2 separate regions of the Homo sapiens genome follow, and region 2 is linked to region 1. The links are contacts of gene promoters, found by promoter capture Hi-C in human tissues and cell types (Jung and others, 2019). All regions are on one chromosome and are shown on one strand. Each heading gives the region's core, a stretch centred on a gene start or on the middle of the fragment in contact. The rest is flanking DNA. Distances are from core to core; before and after follow the strand shown. Region 1 holds the start of SGPP2 (sphingosine-1-phosphate phosphatase 2). Region 2 overlaps LOC105373907 (a long non-coding RNA gene).

Region 1 (7,356 bases), core at 1,324-3,823:
AGGACGATGACCTAAGGCTCAGTTTCAGGGCATGGTGGAGCAATAAGATGAAAAGAACCAGAGTCATGGAGTAGGGCCATGGAGCAGAGCTTCCTACTAACCTCAACTGCTTGCCTTAGAACCATTCTATGAAAGAGAAATACATGTCTGTGTTCCTTAAGCCACTCTATTTTGGGGTCTCTTTGTTATAGTAGCTTAACCTTTATCCGAACTAGTATTAATATATCCATCATTGATTCCTTTTAAATATGTCATTTTGTAATTGTTACATATATACAAGTGAGCAAAGTACAAATAACTGGATTTCTGCCCTGGCAAAAAAAAAAAAAAAAAAAAAAAAAAAAGGTCGGGGGGCGGGATGTGAAATGTATTTCCCACAGGTATGACTAGTGTTCAGTGATCAAAGAACTACAGGGTGTTTCTCTGGTATCAAGAAAAAAAAATTTTTTGCATGACTGCAAGCTACTATTTGATATCTCTGCACCATTACAGCAGTCTTTCAGTCCTACCACTTCTCAAAGATGTTGATTTTTGTTAGGTTGGTTGGGAAATTCATGTTCAGAATAATCAGACTGGGCCTTAGAAAAAAAAGGTTCTGGGGAAATGGACTTTACCACTGCCCAGGAGGCTCAAGATGTCCTACTCAAGATGTTCAGAGCCAAATTCTCTTGAGGATTCCTTCCTAGATTGAATGACTCCAGCACAATACACCTTCTTATCATGATCTCACTAGGCCTTATAGAGCTTGTCTCAAGGTTATTTTTACAAGAGCCTTATAAGAAAGACAAGAAGTGAGGATTATCATTTCATTACAGGGATAAACTGCGACATATGGTGACTTACATCAGGTGACTTGGTGAGCCACTAGAAGCTGGAATCAGTAACTGATCCTCCATGGAGATAAAATGCTCTGTCTACAAATACAATTCTTTGGCAATTAACTTAATGCTGCGTGTGCCATGTTTTGCTTTGCCTATTTTTCCTAACTGGTAGAAAGAAAAATCGAAGCACTAAATTCGGGAGACACATGATGCAAGTGCCTTCACAGGAAAACATATTTCTTTAACACATAAGCAGAACAGGTCCCCAACGATCACAGCTCCAGCTTCTAAAACCAAACCACAGGGTTTTGCCTCACACCTGTAAATGACAGCCAGAAGCATTGTGGAGAGATGCTTCCACCTCCTGGGCCGGACATTTCTGTGTGTGATCCCGCCAGACATGACAATAACTCTGCGTGTCTTCTGTAAGAGGAAAATGGTTTCCCTTAAGAGCTTCAGCATTCTCTCAGTCCCCTTGACTTTGCTCTCCAGACAGGACTGAGAAGCAAGAAAAGTAGAAACTAGGGCATGAAGGGGACTACATCATCCTGGAAAGTCACATCCCAAAGACATTCAGGCCTAAAAGGACAACTGAATAAATAAGGCATTGACAGGTGTTCATTAATCATTTGTGCAACCAAATTCTTAGTAGGCTTTGCATGGACAATCAGGAAACATGCAGGTTTCTGCTGCAAACGAAAGACGGGGTTGAATTGCACTTTTGTTGCAGACTGATCACCTGGGCCTAATTTGATTGTTGCCTCCCAAGGGATCTCTGAGCCCAGGAGGGAAATGTAGGAGGGAGGAGGGAAAACCAAGGCCGGCCTGCAGGATGTTTCCTTTGCTATCTTCTGCTGAGTGCTCTAAAGCAGGTGCAGGTGCAATGAGATACCTAATCCTGTCCCCAGTCCTCCAGCACTTTGTTCTCTTCTCGTTTAAACTCCCTAAATGGTCTGGTGGGGTTTTCCCAGTGTCATTGCTTAAAGAGAGGCAGAGCGGAAAGAAAGAAGTAGGAGAAAGCGGTAAGCATCTTTGTTCTCAATGCGGAAAACCCAGAAGGGACTTTCCTTCCCACCCACCTGAAAATGTTCCCCAGTTGCCAAATCAGAAGGGCAGGGGCAGCGACGCGGAAGATGACTCAGGGCCCACTTTGAACCTCCTGGGTACTTGAGCAAGCTCAAGGGTGTTCGGACCTCTAGGGAGACGTTGCATCACGCAGTTTGGAAAGAACTTGGGAATTCTCCCTGGGGGGCTCGCTGTATTTACTGGGAACTAGTCTTGCAGGAAGGTGAGAGTACGTGGCTGGCTGTGGGGAGCTGGCGTGGGAGGAAATCCGACTTCACCTTGGGCTCAGAGTTGCAAGGAAGGTCACTGTGGGATCAGCCTGAGCCCAAAAGGATGGGCTAATGGGAGCGGCCGCAGGTGCACGCGCGCTCGGCCGCTCCCATTAGTGTTACGTCTGCCGGGGGAAGAAGGTGGGGTGGGGGGTTGGGGGCGCCGGGAGAAGAGAGGCGCAGTTCGGAGATCGGCACTCCTCCGTCCAGTTACAGGCGGTCCTGCCCCCGTGGCCGCCCGGGGCCGCCCAAGCCCTCCGGGACGGAGAGAAAGGGGGACGCGTTGCGCAAGGTGGAGGCAGACACCTGGGCGGGCGCTAGGACCCGGGCGGCGCACCTGTTGGCTGGGCCCGGGGCCCCGCCCGCCCGGCCTCCGCCCGGAGTGCGGGATCGGCGGGGGCGAGGCGGGAGTGGCGGTGCCAGCGGAGGGCACCGGCCCGGCGTGGCAGCGGCGGCGGAGCGCGGCCCCGGGCACACCATGGCCGAGCTGCTGCGGAGCCTGCAGGATTCCCAGCTCGTCGCCCGCTTCCAGCGCCGCTGCGGGCTCTTCCCCGCTCCGGATGAAGGCCCCCGGGAGAACGGCGCGGACCCCACGGAGCGCGCGGCGCGGGTCCCCGGGGTCGAGCATCTCCCCGCAGCCAACGGCAAGGGCGGCGAGGCTCCGGCCAACGGGCTGCGCAGAGCCGCGGCGCCGGAGGTAACCATGGGCAGGTGTTCGCCGGGTACGGGGAGGGGGCGGCTGCGGACGTGCGGGTCCCTGCGACTCCGCCACGCGGGGCCGGCCGGGCCGAGAGGGCGCCGTCCCCGGCAGTGACCCGGCTCCCGCCGCTGCGAGCGGACGGGGAGGCCTGGCCTTCCAGTAACCAGGATGCCACCCTCCAACGCTGCCAGGGGCAACCGGGTCTATTGAGATATCCCCAGACGCTTTCAATGCAGTCCATTTAGAGACTTCCCACTTTCAAAAGTAGTTAAATTCACGTAGATGCCAGCAAATATGTAAGAGTTACGTAATGGAACGGAGGAGCGGGGATGTCCTTGGCACTTCCCCGGGGAGACGTTCTTAGACTCCCCCCCACCCCCGTATTCTTGCATTTCCGCCCATCCCCCTTCCCTGATGCGCACAAATGCGGGTGCAGCCGGGCTCAGCGCGCTCCTCACCGCGCTGCACCGCCAGCTCTGGGCACAGAACTTGGGGCTCACACAGCTCCTAGAGAGATTTACAACCTCCCTGCACTACCCCCGGCGATGATGTCTTAACAGCAACTCTCGCTTGCCCTCCCCCAGAGTCTGGGGGTCCCTCCTGCCTGGTGGGTCTTTTATGGACCGACACCAGTGACTTCTAACAGATGCTTCTGGGAGGGAAGCTCGCTACGCTCCCGCTAGGTGTTCAAAGCGTGGTTATACAACCCACTGCGGCTTGGGGGGAACCAGCGTGCGTCGTCGTCGCAGTGCACAGGGACTTTAGGCAGCAGGGACCAGACGGGCTGCACTTGGCTTCTGGGGACGCATGTCTACCGGGAGCACTGGCAGCACCTGCCTTTTCCCTCGGCAAAGTCAAAAGTGTGGCGCAGGAGAACAGAAATAAACGTATTAATAATTCGAATTCCTTGTACACAGCCACATTTTGTTCTTCCTAGAAGGTTTTGGTGAAAGAAAGGTGGCCTTTACTTACGTGTAAATTTCTAGATGTAGTAACTGAGGAATTACGAAGAACCTGGCTTCTGTGTGGAATGGAATATTATAGGCATTGGATTACAGAATTTGTTTGGGAGGGTGAGGGTGGTTGTGTGTTCTACTCCAGAGAAATCCTCCTCTGTATTTTTTCCTCTTTATTGTTCCTTCTTTATCCCATGTGACATTCCGGTAACCTATAGATGAGTATGAGAACCCCTCTTTTTTCTCTTGCCTTGTCTTAAAAACGGGGCAGAGTAGGGGGGATAAGAAATCAGCTGGGCGTGGTGGTGCGGCCTGTAGTTCCAGCTACTCCGGAGGCTAAGACAGGAGAATAGCTTGAGGCGGAGGTTGCAGTGAGCCAAGATCACGCCACTGCACTCCAGCCAGGGCGACTGAGCGAGACTCCGTCTCAAAAAAAAAAAAAAAAAAAAAAAAAGACCAAAACAAACAAACAAACAAACAAAAAACAGTCCCATGGCTGAAACGTGCCGTGACATATTCGGTGCACACACTGTTTACACCCACAGGTAGACACGTGAGTTGCTTTCTGTTGCTCTCTTCACAAGCTTCTACCCTGTTTCTCTAATTCAGGAAGCTGAAAAAGAGTGAATTGTTCCACCAGTGCTTCTCAAACTGTTTTAAACATCACCCCTGGTAACTTAACTTTAAACTCCACAGTTGGATCCTCTTGACCTTTAAAAGCAAGCTAAGCAGATTTCTTACACAGTTTTATCTTCTTACTGCTTGACAATCCTGGTGGGTCTTCAGTGAGTGAAATTGTGGCGGTTTCCCCACACCCACCCAGCCAACACAGGACTTCTGCTTACAGATCATGTAAAAGCAAGAAAGCTGAATGCCCAAGATAAGAAATCATTGTGTTGGTATATAATGGGGGAAATCATAAACTTGAGAGTGCTTGATAAATGAAAGGTTAATTAATGTTTTTACAGGTGGGTTGGTTTCAAATGACTTGGGAAGATTAATCCTTTACATACACACATTGATTCCCCCCCTCAAAAATTATCTCTTATCTACACTCAGGCAATTTACAGGACTTTAAGGGGGCAGTTGTGAAAAGTGTGCTGCCCTCTCTGCAGGCCTTTGTACAGGCGTTGGCCTGCCTGAGCTGCCTGTCTTTTCTCTAAATATCCTCCCCACTCATCCTTCTATTTCCAAAGGTCAGTTCCTCCATGGGTGACTTCTCTGACCTTCCAGCCTAGCTCCCCCTGCTATAGTTTTTCTTTGCTTTCTGCATTTCTTCATTACAGCATTTATCACGTTGTTTAAATGTGCCTTTGTGTGGATATCTGATTATTCCCCGCCCCTCCAGAGGATGATAAACTCTAAGAATGCAGGCAACTTTTCTGTTATGGTCCTTATTTTTTTCTCATAGCCTGGCACGTAGGAGGGACTAGTGACTTTTGTGAATACATGCATGTAGATTGCAATATAAAATTATAGTTTTAAACTTTTTTTTTAAGAGACAGGGTCTTGCTGTGTCACCCAGGGTGGAGTGCAGTGGCACAATCATAAGTCACTGCATCTTCCACATCCTGGACTCCTGCAGTTCTCCTGCCTCAGCCTCCTGTGTAGCTAAGACTACGGATGCATGCCATCATCTGGTTTGTTGTTGTTGTTGTTGTTGTTATTGTTGTTTTTTGTAGAGACAGGGTCTCACTATGTTGCCAAGACTAGTCTTAAACTCTTGGCCTCAAGTGATCCTTCTGCCTCAGCCTTGCAAAGTGCTGAAATTATAGACGTCAGTCACTGTGACTGGCGATGTTTCGTTTTTCTTTAAAAAAAAATGAGTGAATGTTGAAAATCAAGTGATTTTTCCGCATAGCCTAGAAGGTAGCACCAGGACGTTGATTTAGGACCCTTCAAACAATAGAGAAGTTTTCTTCTTCATTTGAGTGACTTTAGATCTTAATGAATCTGATTTACCTTCTCACCTTTCACATTGTCTATATTTGTTTTAATTTTGAAACAGGACAAGTGTTTCCTGTTTTCAAGTGACTAAAAGTTTCCTCTACAAGTTCTCATTACACCACACGCTGCTAGCTTAAAGATTAACTGCATCTTTTACAAACCAGGAGTGGGCTTGGCTTGTACAAGCCTGTCATTGAATAAATTGGACTGGGCCTTAGAAATTGCCCAGTAGTCATGAATTTCACAGAAAGTCTGAGTCCTGAAGGGTTAAGAGATTTATTGAGGACTTCCAGGATATCCACACAGTCAGGGGAAGTCAGATCTTTTGACTCCCAAGTCTAAACTTCTTTCCTCTGTGCAGATTCCAGGGAAAATTCCAGGGCCTCACTGTATCTGATTCACTGAGGTGTGTCCTGTTGGTACTGGCTGGGACAGGGTGGAGATCGTGTGAAAAGAGGTGGTATTGCTTTCAGTTTGCAAGGGTATCTGACTTGCAAGAGTAACTGTAGGAAGCCATTTTTGGTTATTGCTTTGGGAGGCACTGCCCTGAGCAGAAGGCAGGATCCTAGGACTGGGCCAGGAAGGTAAAGGTGTGATGAGAATTTCATTTATTTGTCCTGGGGTAAAGCCAGCCTCGTATATAATGGTATTTTGATTTCTAACATTTTTGCTTACTCAATACAGTTGTATTTAGTTAGACTCTGCAGTGCCTTCCTCAGCAGTACATTAGACTAAGGATCATCTTTTCTAATATCCCTGTGTCCAGTACTTTTTGATAACTGCTCAGACATAGTTCTCACATTGACTTAGGGAGAGGTTCAAAGATAAGTTGTTTCTAGAAATCTTAGACTCCTAGTTTCCCTCTTGAAACATTTGAGGCTCTAAATCTGTTAATCTACGAAACCTTGATTTCATTGGTGTGCTAAAGTACAAATACTACATCCTGGAAACCAGGAGACCAGGATCTAGTTTTACCTTCATGTCATTTTGGACTTCTCTGAACCTCGGTTGTCCCATCTGCAGAATGAGCAGAGTGGGGGAAAAAAAACATGGTTTTCTTTTTTTTTTTTTTTTTTTTTTTTGAGACAGAGTCTCACCCTGTCATCCAGGCTGGAGTACAGTGGCTCCATCTCAGCTCACTGCAACCTCTGCCTCCTGGATTCAAACGATTCTCCTGCCTCAGCCTCCCAAGTAGCTGGGATTACAGGCATGCACCACCATGTCCAGCTAATTTTTGTATTTTTAGTAGAGATCGGGTTTTGCCATGTTGGCCAGGCTGGTCATGAACTCCTGACCTTAGGTGATGTGCCTGCCTCAGCCTCCCAAAGTGCTGGGATTACAGGCCACCTCCCAAAGTGCTGGGATTACAGGCTGGGATTACCGCACCCGGCCAAGAACCATGGTTTTCTAACCATGGCTGTACAGTATAGTCACTTAGAGAAGCTTTCAAAACAAAACAAACATAAACCAATGTCCAAGATCCAGGTTAGAAGAGGGGTCCAGAGAAGCTGACCAACAAAGTTGGGAAGCTCTGAGTTCTCTTCTCCTGGGACCCACCACCCTTAGTATATTCAGTAGGAGGGTGGTGATGGCTGCAG
Region 2 (6,621 bases), core at 3,215-5,714, 1.1 Mb after region 1:
AACTAAATCAATGTATATAAAAGTTTAGAACAATGCATAGCCTAAAATAAGTGCTTGATGAATGCAAAAAGAATAAATGTTGTTTAGCTTTTACAGTTTCAATCATAAGATAAATAAATTCTGGGTATCTAGTATACAGTATGATGGCCATTGTTAATTATACTTCATTGTGTACTTAAAATTTGCTAAAAAAAAAAAGGTAGATCTTATCAACACATATACACTCACGGTAACTATGTGAGGTGATTTGTTTGTGTTCATTAGTTTGTTTGTGGTAATCATTTTACAATGTATACATAAATCAAATCATCACATTGTATACCTTAAATATATATAACTTTTATTTATCAAATAAGCTGGAAAAGTATATTAGTTATCTTTTCTTGGGGGAGCATATATTACTCTTTTTCAATAAAGATTAAGAATAATTTTATTAAAAACTAATGCACCAAAAGAGGATGCTTCAATTCCAAAAGGTGTGAAGGAGGTAATTAAATGTTAAAAATAAATATTTCCTACCTTCCCTACTGAAACTCTATGTTAAGAGAAATTAAAACTGGGGTGACAAAGAGGCCAATATTTCCATTCACTACTTGTCATTGTCCAACCTGGAAGTGTTTTGGGGTAAGGAGGAACAATCAGGTATCATTCCCAAATTCCTAATTTGGGTGGTTTCCGTTTTTAATGCAACTTATCTCTAGGAGAATCATTCACATCTATTCAGAACGTACTTTACCTGTTCAGTTTGTTTAAATGAAGCCGTTTGGAGAGTTTGGATTGTTAAGGAATATGAACTACAAGTTTATAACGTGGGAAATTTTAGGTGAAAATTATGAGAGAACATCTCAGTGAAGCAATTTGGATAGTATGTCACTTATCTCCTGCTGCTTAAAAAAAAACCTCCCCAAAACTTACAAGCATGAAGCAACAACCATTAGCCCAGCTTATACATCTTTTGGGTGACAAAGTAGATTGGGCTCAGCTGGGTGATTCTTCTGATCTGGGCTAGTTTGGGGCATTCTTGGCTGCCTTAGGTCACATTTCTGGAGGCTTGGCTGGAACAATTCGGCTGACTTCTCCATATGAGCTCTTATCATACAGCAGGCTGGCCTGAGTTTGTTCAAATGATGCATACAGGGAGCCAAGAGCAAGTAGAGGCCTGCAAAATATTTTCGGTTCTAGGATGGGCACTGGAATGCTTCCACAGCATTTCTTGGATCAAAGCAAGTCACAAGACCAGTGCAGACTCCGGGACTGGAAAAATAGACTCCAACACTTGATGGGAGGAGCTGCAAAGTCATGTCACAAATGATGAGGAGAGAGCCAAAGGAAGGATTAGTGGTCCAAATGTGCAATCTACCACGGGTAGCCAACATCATTCCTATGTTAGCAAGAAGAAGGCTGAAGAAGGCCCCATCAAAATCAGAGAGAATCAAAGTTCATTTTGCAAATTGGCTGGGACCCTCATAGCCTTAAAATGGATGAAGCTGGAAACCATCATTCTAAGCAAACTATCACAAAGACAGAAAACCAAACACCACATGTTCTCACTCATAGGTGGGAGTTGAACAATGACAACACATGGACACAGGGCGGGGAACATCATACACAGGGGCCGGTCGGGGGGTGGCGGACTGGGGGAGGGATAGCATTAGGAGAAATACCTAGTATAAATGACGAGTTGATGGGTGCAGCAAACCAACATGGCACATGTATACCTATGTAACAAACCTGCATGTTGTGCACATGTACCCTAGAACTTAAAGTATAATAAAAATAAATAAATAAATAAAAATTAAAATATATATATAATTTCTATTTTTCTGGCATCTTATTTCATTCTGTTGTCTAATGTGAAGCAAGATTTCATGTAAATGGAATTGCTGGCCAGACCAAAACATTCATGTGTGTGTGGTTCATGCTAATTCAACCCATATGACTGGAAAATCTGAGAGATCCTTAATTTTCCTACTATTAGGTGAAAATTAACAATTCTTTAAGAATATAGATAATAAATTATTTGCATATCATTGCTCTTGCTTTAGTTTTGTCAAGTGTGACAGACAACTTTTCATAAAGTACTTCCCCACATTGGAGAGGGTGGAGAGGAGGACAGCTTCAGTAATTCAGTGCATTAATCCAATAACATAGTATCATTAACTAAGGTAAAAACACCTTTTCAATGGATACCTCTGGAACTCTCCCTTTTGGTGTTATGTAATTGTATTGTAAATTTAACTAAGATTTATTTTTAGAACGTCAGCGTTTTAGCAACCACATCTATCAGTCCACCAACTACAAAGTCAAGACTCTTTTTGAAAAAGGCCTCATGAATACAAGTTAAGACAGTAGCTAATGCTTTTAACTAAACAGCATAAATACATAATGCAAACAAAGACAATTCTTCAAGATGCACATAGAGGGAAAATATAACCTTCAAGGTTTAGAAAATGTCGGGTGCTTTAAAATTAAATGGTATGAGAAATATAAAAAGCTAGAGGTAGTCCAGAAAAATAGGAGAAATAAACAACATTTGTTAAAGTAATTAGAGATGATAGTATTAATTAAAGTAATTACAGATGATAGTATTAATTAAAGTAATTAGAGAAGATACTATTAATCTTGCAGTCTCCTCTGGCATAATAAATGTGGATTACATTCTCTTTGTCTCTTCAGACCAAAACTATATAGAGGAGAAAGTAGGACAACTTTAGAAGTTTATGAGATGACATGAAAATGAGACATGAAAACAATCCAGGTAGGTAACTTAACATCTTGAAGTGTTAGAGCTGAAAAGATTAATAGAGATTAGATTACATAATCCCTCATTTTAAAGCTGAAGAAACTGAGTTGTTTGCCCAAGTTCGCACAGCTAACAGGTAACTAATCTACTCCCCAATAACTGATTTTACTATACTTGCCTTAGGGCCTGATCACAATTGCTTAGTAAGTTCCCAGTCATGCTCATCCAGTTTTTATGACCTTATTTTAACATATGTGAAATATTTTTAAATTAATTTCTGAATATTTTAGCATGCTGGAGAATGAGGGGCTCATAGCTAGGATCAAAGACTTCATTGAAAGATATGGTTTGGATGTGTGTTCCCTCCAAGTCTCATATTGAAATTTTTACCCCCGTGTTGGAGTAGGGCAATAGTGGAAGGTGGGGGTGATGGAGGCAGATCCCTCATGCTATTCTCACAGCAATGAGTGAATTCTCACTCTATTAGTTCGTGTGAGAGCTGGTTGTTTAAAGAGCGTGGCGCCTTCTCCTCTTGCTCCTTCTCTCACCATCTTCCCCCTTTACCTTCCACCATGATTGGAAGCTTCCTGAGGCCTCACTGGAAGCTGAGCAGATGCTGGTGCCATGCTTGTACAGTCTGCAGAACCATGAGCCAACTACCCAGTCTCAGGTATTTTTCTATAGCAACACAAAATGGATTAACACATTGAACTTCTGACTTAAATCTCAACTCACCTAATCACTGGGTTTTTGCAGATGAGATATGGGTAAGTTGGGTTTCTGAAAAATGTAGGAAGGGCTTCCACTTCTATAAACATGTTCAGCTACGTCTCTCTTCTCACCGAAGGTCCAGCACTGCTTCAAACTGGATAAATAAGCTACGATTTCAGGCAATCACGTGAGTAGAGGAACATTGAGCTCTTCATTTCTTTAGAGCATAAACAGGCATCAAAAGAGGTTTTTTTTAGAATCGCTTGAGTTGTTGATACTCTGAGGACAAAGTGTTGCCCACTAGAAGGAAGGACCATGGGGAAAAGCAGACCTAATTATATGAGACATCTCCAACCTTGGCAGCCCCCATGGCATAAGTACTTCACTCTCATAACCCGCATAAGTACAGTTGTTCTCTGTAGTAAATATGTGATGTAAATTTGTGGAAATAGGAAAGGATGGGAGAAAGAAAGGATTCAAAAAGGAAGAGGGAAGGGGAGAAAAATAAAAAGAAAGTATCATTTAACAAGAACTTTTGAGTGTTCGTGGGTGGGCAGAGAGGAAGACCTGAGAATTAATGGAGAGAAAAAAGATGTGGCTACAGATGTAGGAGGTGAGAGGATTCTAGAATGAAGATTAATGTGATAAAGAGGACATTACATAATACGTTGGTGGGTTATAAATTAGTCCTCTTTGTCATTATTTTTAAAAAATAAGTAAATAATGCAATTATTTTTATGACTATTGCTTGCCTGATAGTACTTCTTTGTATCCCACAAGGCCTTGACTTTTATGGGATGACATCACCTGTTGCTTTCTGAGTTTTCATCAATTTCTAGAGCTGCATTTTCTTCCACAAAACCTCTTGTTCTTAGTAATGGCTGCTCACTCTACCTCTGGCCCTGCCTATAACTCTGTTGGCTCATGCTGCCAGATACCTCTCTGTTGCTGTGGAGAACTGAGGAGTAACAACATGATAGTACAGCTTAAAATAAATACTATCATAGAGAAAAATAAAATAAAATATAAGGATCAGGGGAGAAAATACATTTGTAGAAACAAAGAAAATGAGAAGACTATGAAGTGTTGCTACAATTAAAATGTTGATTCTAAATCTGTTTGAACTTCAGTTTCTCTTCTTTTTTTCTGAGTGATCAGATGGCTCATATTCTGAATGTGTTAGCTTAGGCATTCAGCTTAGAATACACGTTGATTAATTCTGAATTATTCAGCGTTAATCAGGTATTGCTTCAAGTTTTCTTCTTTGTGCTTCATGTCTCCAAAGTCAGAAAGTTGAGCTTAAATACTTCTGAATAAAGTAATTCCTAAATGAAATGTGAGTGTGGCTCTACCAAACAGGAGGGGTGTTAGCTATGCAAGGCTGGGCTGCCAAAGGGCAGTTTGGAAAGAAAAGGAAGCAATTTCTCAAAAGATGGATGGAATTGATATCAGGATATAATCCTGTCTATTTAAAATGGTTGTATACCTATGTAACAAACCTGCACGTTGTGCACATGTACCCTAGAACTTAAAGTATTATATATATATAAAATGGTTTAGATGACACGGTGCTTAAAGGCAGCATTGCTGATGGGCTCTGGGACCAATACGGTGTTTCCGAGAGCTGCAGAGAGCTATGGGACTCTGAGTATTATGATATCCAAGCCTTGGGATAATGTTCAGGAAAAAATGCACAGGGGAAACTGATAATGTTTGCTATTAATGATGGGGATTGGGAAAATACCTAATGCAGTGAAAAAAAAAAAAGTGTGATTTAGGTATGGGTGGCCCTATGCCCAATCCTGATTCTACCTTTTACCAGCCATGTGGCTTATTCCATCTGAATAACTAAGCTTTGGTTTTTTATATTCAATTTGGCACCTAGTGGATATCCAAATACTGATAACTATTAATATGACTTTAAACATAGGCTTCAGTGCATAGAGCAATGGTTTGAAGTCACATGGTTCTCCCACACTTCTTTGGGGTTGGCCTTTAATGCATGAATGAGCTCACCTGATTGGAAGGGGACACAGTATCCTGCATAAAAACAGGAATTTCATCTCCAACTCCTTCTAACTCAAACTATCCTGTGCCATAAAGGTTAGAGATGTGGTATTGGTGACTCAAAGATACCATGGCAACATGGAGGAGTCCTAGGGAGGAAGGCTTAGCCTCAGAGCTTAGATGTGGAGACAGGCCTGAGATCCAACCCTTTTACTTTGTCCCTGCACCAGTGAAAACGGTAGCGAGCTGGGTCAGGAGAAGCCAGTGCTGGTAATTGTGCAGCCTATGAAGAAAGTCAGTTTTATTCTAAGTATTCATGCTCTTATCAGATTCTAAAGTTGACAGAATTGGCACGAAATAAGATCTGCATGTTTATGTCTGAGAATGTTTCTTCTGGACCTCTAAACCCATAAAGTCTCTAAAGATCAGATTTGACTTTAACTTTTTTTTTCATTTTGGCCATGCAGTTTATCCAGTGGAATGTGGTAAAATATGAACTAAATTTCATGGGCCAAAATAAATCTCTTTGTTAAAGTTGTGCCATTTCTAACCTATTCTTTCCAAATGACTTTTTTTTTGTTACTTCTTAGTATTTCTTGGTTGACCAATTTATACTTGTCATCTTAATCAAATTTGATTTATTTGGTTATATTTTTAAAGAGCAGTGTACTCTTTCCATCACTTCTCCTTCCCCAGAAATATTTTTTAAATGTTTTTCTAAAAAACAAAACAAAAAAATCTTTACTTTTTACTCCATCCATTGGTTCACTCCCTGGGCACCGCTTGTCCAGCCTCCTATTTATTTCTTAACATCTCCCTACCTATCCCCCCAATTTTTCCTAAAAATGCTTTCTTTGGGAAAGGAGCATCATCTGCTCATCAGCTATATAAACTGAAAGGCTCGAGTTTCTTCTACTCTACCTTTGCCTTCCTCCTCCACAACCAGAGGTCACTAAGATCTGTCCATTTTACTTGCTGAATGTCCTTTTTTAAAATAATGGCATTATAGATACATAATTCATATACCACAAAAATCACCCTTTTAAAATGTAGTCAAGTGGCTCTTATTATATTCACAGAGTTGTGAAACCATCACCACTCTCTATTTCCAGAACATTTTCTTCATTACCCCAAAAACAAATCCTGTACCCATTAACAGT

The links. Contacts are between HindIII fragments. The study calls those that stand out against the background at their distance.
Region 2: a contact is called between a fragment that was not itself captured here and the fragment with the promoter of SGPP2 in region 1, in 1 of the 25 tissues and cell types used here (adrenal gland).

The regions. Positions count from the first base shown.
Region 1 is chr2:222,421,970-222,429,325 of GRCh38, forward strand. SGPP2 (sphingosine-1-phosphate phosphatase 2) reads left to right here and starts at 2,574. Exons shown (of 5, transcript NM_152386.4): 1 at 2,574-2,852. The coding sequence starts at 2,634. RefSeq lists enhancers at 1,818-2,117, 3,308-3,457, 3,508-3,567, 5,716-5,785, 5,996-6,115 and 1 more and silencers at 2,278-2,627, 2,718-2,947, 2,958-3,007. The HindIII fragment of the contact is 9,125 bases long and covers 1-5,798 here.
Region 2 is chr2:223,502,800-223,509,420 of GRCh38, forward strand. LOC105373907 (a long non-coding RNA gene) reads left to right here. Exons shown (of 5, transcript NR_187973.1): 3 at 2,677-2,758. Among named protein-coding and RNA genes, the nearest start is that of SCG2, 96 kb to the right of the region's middle. The HindIII fragment of the contact is 5,716 bases long and covers 1,607-6,621 here.